Linked DNA regions of Homo sapiens: region 2 is linked to region 1. Evidence: promoter capture Hi-C in human tissues and cell types (Jung and others, 2019). All regions are on one chromosome and are shown on one strand. Each heading gives the region's core, a stretch centred on a gene start or on the middle of the fragment in contact. The rest is flanking DNA. Distances are from core to core; before and after follow the strand shown.

The links. Contacts are between HindIII fragments. The study calls those that stand out against the background at their distance.
Region 2: a contact is called between a fragment that was not itself captured here and the fragment with the promoter of PRDM6 in region 1, in 1 of the 25 tissues and cell types used here (H1 embryonic stem cells).

The regions. Positions count from the first base shown.
Region 1 is chr5:123,087,882-123,090,581 of GRCh38, reverse strand. It overlaps PRDM6 (PR/SET domain 6), which reads right to left and starts at 1,341. Exons shown (of 8, transcript NM_001136239.4): 1 at 1,063-1,341; 2 at 1-582. The coding sequence starts at 567. It overlaps PRDM6-AS1 (PRDM6 antisense RNA 1), which reads left to right and starts at 266. Exons shown (of 2, transcript NR_146771.1): 1 at 266-510; 2 at 2,643-2,700. RefSeq lists enhancers at 1,602-2,146, 2,147-2,691. The HindIII fragment of the contact is 7,641 bases long and covers 1-2,700 here.
Region 2 is chr5:123,416,809-123,419,508 of GRCh38, reverse strand. CEP120 (centrosomal protein 120) reads left to right here. Exons shown (of 20, transcript NM_001375405.1): 2 at 994-1,150. Among named protein-coding and RNA genes, the nearest start is that of CEP120, 5.2 kb to the left of the region's middle. The HindIII fragment of the contact is 7,053 bases long and covers 1-2,700 here.

The DNA.
Region 1 (2,700 bases), core at 92-2,591:
GTTGAGCGGGATGATCTCCATGCGCTGCTGGCCATACAGGTAATAGTCCAGCTCCTCTGCGCTGCAGCGGAAGCGCGGGGCGCCGCGACCCTCCCCGCCGCCGCCGCCACCACCACCGCACTTGACGGGCCCGGGGCCGGAGGTGGCGCCGAGGCACAGTTCCTTGGGGGGCAGCGGCTCGGCGGCGACGGCAGCGGCGGCTAGAGGCGCGAACACCGGCAGCTGCGACACCGGCAGGGCCGAGAGACCAGCCAGCGCGGCGGCAGCGGCCGCAGCAGCGCAGGAGGAGGCGGAGGAGGCGGAGGTGGAAGAGGAAGCCGGCGTGGACGAGGCGGAGGAGAGAGAGGCGGGCCGCGGGCGCAGGCTGTCCGGCGGAGGCTCAGCGCGCTCCGGGGGCGGGGGCGGCGGCGGCGGCTGAAGAGGCTGCGGCGCGCTCAGGAGACCCGCGGCGCCGCTGCCCTTGAGCGGGCCTGCGCCTCCGTGAGGGAAGAGTTGCTGCCAGTGCTGCAGGTAGGCTGGGTCCACTTTGAGGAAGGCCGAACCGCCGGGGTCTCCGGGCTTCAGCATGTCCGGCGCCTCGAACTGGGGGCAGAGGGCAGGGAAGAGGGGGCGCGTGAGCTGGGCGAAAGGGGCCGGGAAGAGGGCCACTGGGACCCTGGAGAAAGTGCCCGAGCCGGTGGTTCAGCCGGCGGCCGCCCGGTTCCGCGGCTCCCTCTTCCCAACTCCGCTTGGGCGCAAAGTTTACTCCGAAGCTGCGGCGCCGCACAGAGGGAGCTGTGTGCACCCTGCTCTGCCTCCCCGATCGCAGCGTCCAGCTCCCATCCAGCAATGCTGGGGCCCGACAGGAGGGCGCTGCCCCGTAGAACTCGGCTGCAGGACGCAGCCCCCGCCCTCAGCCAGCGCCCGGAGCCGACCCGAGCCGGCGTGGCGCAGCGCCCGAGCCGCGTTGGCCTCAGGCGCCAGGAGGCAGAACAGTCTCGCCGCCCGCCCCCAACCTAGGACCACCAACCTTCCTATCTACCAAGCCCTAGACTCTTAAGTCCCAGACCAGCCTCACCTTACCTGAAAACTCGGTGCTGCCGGTGGGTGCGTGCGGGTGTCTCGGTGAGCGTGCGGGTGCGCGAGAGTGTGCGCCCTGCGTGCGCTACATGCCCCTGAGCAGCGCGGGAGGAGAGTCCTAGAGATTGTGCCGCCCGGAAACCTCCCGACCTGCAAGCGAGAAAATTGGGAGGCCCGCGGAGGGCGCGAGAGTGCGGACGGACCTGGGCGCCCGACTCAACCGCCGTGGGCTGCTGCGCTTGGCCGCTGCCGCGTCCTGGCTCCTTGGTTCCACGCTCTGGCAGCTTCCCGGCTGGACACGTGGGTTTTACGACAGCACAAAATAGAGTGAGTGTGTGTGTGTGTGTGTGTGTGTGTGTGTGTGTGTGTGTGTGTGTGTGTGTGTGTGTGTGTGTGAGAGAGAGAGAGAGAGAGAGAGAGAGAGAGAGAGAGAGAGAGAGAGAGAACGGAGGGGGGAGGGGAGGCAGGCCAGAAGAAGGGGAGGGGAGAGGGAAGAAGGAAGTTCTAATTCGGCCCGACCCACATCGCCAGAGCGCCTTTCCCGCACAAACTCCTCCGCCCTCCCATCCCCTGTTTTTTTGGCGTGACGTCTGCCGCTAGCCTGTTGTCTCTTTCTGCCCATGATATGTCTTTTCTGGGTCCCAGCTCAGTGCCCTGATCTTGAAAGCAGTGGAAATGCGGCAACGGGAATGCATCTCCGCACACGCTGTGGTGTCCGCGCTGGAGCAAGCCCGCGCCGCCAGGACCGGGTTTGCGCTTTTGCCCGGCTCAGTTTTTCCTGAAGTGCTTCTGGGTGCCAGAGTCCACTCGCCCGCCACGCAACCTCTAACATAAATCCTCCGGGGAGAAAAGTTGGGGGCGGAGCGGGACGGGTTGCGCGCTGCAGTGAAACCCTCTGTCTGCAGCCCAGGAGGGAGGCTTGTCGGTGCAGGGAGGCGTAGGACCGAGGGTCCTGAGACCGAGAGCAGCTGGTCCTGGAGGGACTCAAGCTTGGCCGTGGGGCTGGGAGGCGGCTGCAATGGAGTCTGCACTCCACCCAGCGCTCTGCTGACCCCTTCTCGGGTTGTCTTCTGGAGGGCTCTTTCCCTCTCCTTCTTGGGGCCCGGAGACAAGTATCCAGTGTTACGTCTGGTGGCACAACTGCTCCGGGACACGGGCGAGGCTGTTTGCGGTCAGCTGCCTGCGGCTGCCGCAGGAGGTCACGCATAGGTTTCTCTACCCAAAACCTGGTGTTAGAGGGGCAGGGTGGGAGTGCAGCCCCACCTCCACCATGTCCTCTCCCCAGACTTTGTGCCAGGGCAGCCCTTCGATGCAGTCTCGCACCCACGAAGGAGGCACTTGCCCCCCAGCTCTTCCTGGCATTTTCGGTAGTAGATGGTAGAGGGCACAGGCAGGGTGTGTGAAATTGACCGACTCAGGAGGTACTTTCCCATCGCCGGGGTTCTGGCCATACCGTAAAGAGAAGAAACGGCATTTATCTTTTTCCAAACAACCTAACTTATTTAGCACTTGCCAATCTGAGCAATTAATAGCCATTCTTTCCTGATTTCTGCTTGTTTCTTTTTCTCTTCCCACCACTCAAGTTTTCTGAACCTGGGAAACGTGCTGTTCAGACTTCATCCGGGTCTCATTCAGGATGCT
Region 2 (2,700 bases), core at 138-2,637, 330 kb before region 1:
CCAGGCTGGAGTGCAGTGCTCACTGCCACCTCTGCCTCCCGGGTTCAAGCTGTTCTGCCTCAGCCTCCCGAGTAGCTGGGACTACAGGCGCATGCCACCACACCCGGCTAATTTTTTGCATTTTTAGTAGAGACGGGGTTTCACCAGGAAAGTATTCTTAACTGAGTTAACAGAAAAATTAAGCTGCAGGCAAATTTGTTTTTACTAATTTATTTCCCAGCTCTTCAGATGACTGTTCTCTATTAAGTAGTGCAATAGTAGTACCTAAAATTCGTGTAATCACATTAAGTGTTTAATTCCAGATGTTGTTGAGATCATTCCTACTCAAAGTGTGGACCAAGGACAGCAGCATTCACATCACCTTGGATCTTGTTAGAAATGCGGAATCTTAGGCCCACCCTAAATCTACTGAGTCAAAATCTACATTTTAACAGGGTCCCTAGGTGATTCATGTGCACACTAATGTTTGAGAAGCACACATTTATAAATTATAGCTTTCCATTTGATTCATGTTTCTTATGAATTATGGAAGTGAGTGTATATGTGAGCCTGCATTAGTGAGGTAGCTTATGGAATGCATGTCAACCACACTTAACAGATCATTAGTTTTAAAAAAACACATGCTAGGCTGGGCATGGTGGCTCATGCCTGTAATCCCAGCACTTTGGGAGGCCGAGGCAGGTAGATCACCTGAAGTCAGGAGTTCCAACATGGCAAAACCCTGTCTCTACTAAAAATACAAAAATTAGCTGGGTTTGGTGGTGTGCACCTGTAATCCCAGCTACTTGGGAGGCTCAGGTAGGAGAATCGCGTGAACCTGGGAGGCGGAGGTTGCAGTGAGCTGAGATTGCGCTACTGAACTCCAGCCTAAGCAACAGAGTAAGACTCCATCTCAAAAAAAAAAAAAAACCAGCCAAACAAAAAAACACATGGTAAATGATCCTGTTTGATTTTTGTACACTTTTGATTAATCTATATATTCTGTTTCTCCAGGTCGGCATTTCCCCAAACGTCCAAAGCATATGCTTGTAGTGGAAGCAAAGTTTGATGGAGAACAGTTGGCTACTGATCCTGTGGACCACACTGACCAGCCAGAATTTGCTACTGAGTTAGCTTGGGAAATTGACAGGAAAGCGCTTCATCAGCACAGGTGATTATCATTTTCATTTTAGCTTCTTTATTGGTTTCTTATTTTTCAGGCTGTTATAAATAAATACAGTTTGAGTATTTAATACTTGGGACCAGAAGTATTTTCGGATTTTTGGAATATCTGCATAATCAAAGATACCTTGGGGATGGGACCCAAGTCTAAACATGAAATTTATTTGTTTTACATTATACGCATAGTCAAAGGTAGTTTTATATAATATTTTAAATAAATTTTCATAAAATGAAGTATGTTAAATGCTTGTGTGTGGAATTTTCCGTTTGTGGCATTATGTCAGCACTCAAAGTTTTAGAATTTGGAGCATTTCAAATTAGGAATGTTCAACCTATAAATTTTGTATCTGTCATTACGTTTAATAATTATAGTTATTGAGTGTTTTTTTAAATGTGACAGGAAATTTTTAAAGTACTTTGCAACAATAACAGTTAAACATCAGAACAACACTATGAAGTTGTTATTTTTATTTCGCCCATATTATAGATGAGGAAACCGAGGCCTGAGATGTTAAGTATTAGTAACTTGTTTTAAGTCTGTTAGCTTAGTAGTGGTAGAGCCCAGGCAATCCAGCTTCAGAGCCTAAGCTTTTACACTACACTTACACTGAGCTGTTTGGGTTTTTTTTTTTTCCTAATGTGTGAGACAGTAGATATTCTAGAAATACCTTGATGATACCTACTCATTATTAAATATGGTTGGAATTCCTTGTAATTTCTGTTAATTTATTTATTGTATATTTACCTGGCTTGCCAAGGATATATAGAGGGGTATCCAGTGAAAAGTTATGAAAGTAATTCTATCAAGGTTTCTTTCTAATTAATTTATATTTAATTTTAAACAAAACCACTTTATTAGTATATAAAATAGACTTAAAGTTATAGTATATATTTTTTGTGAACTCTGACTAGAAGCAGGCAACAACAATAAAAGCAATACTCTTATTTATTTAAGGATTAAAAATATATTTTCTTCTGGAAAACATGTTATCACTTTAATACTTGCTTGTTCTCAGTACTAAATTAAATCAAAATGGAAAGTTAAAAAAAAGGAAAGCAAGGAAAACTCTATTTACCTCTGTTGCTAGAGTAGTCCATGGATTTATTTGAAGAAGTATTGCATTCTTAGAGAATATCAATGTTGGATTTCCTTTCAGTGGTGTCTATAATGGAGTCCTGCTATGAGCTGTTAGGGCTTCCATTTTGTTAGTGCCAGGTTAGTACCACTCTGATTGTTGTAGGCTGAGAAAATACAGATAAATTGAATTTATAAGTGATGATTTTGTGCTAAGTGCAGTTCTATAATAACTCCACTAGATAAAAGCAGTGGCAAAATCCATTCAGCTTAATGCATGAGCCAGTTGAGGGGTTCCGAACTAAAACAGCCCATGCTAAACAAGCCAATATCATTCTTTCAGAACACTGTTATGTGTTATATTATTAATTTAAATTTTAATTTATTTTATATTTAATTCCTGTTTGTTTTTTAGCTACAAAAGAGCTATAAGCATGTATTTGTATTTGTAATTTTATGTATGT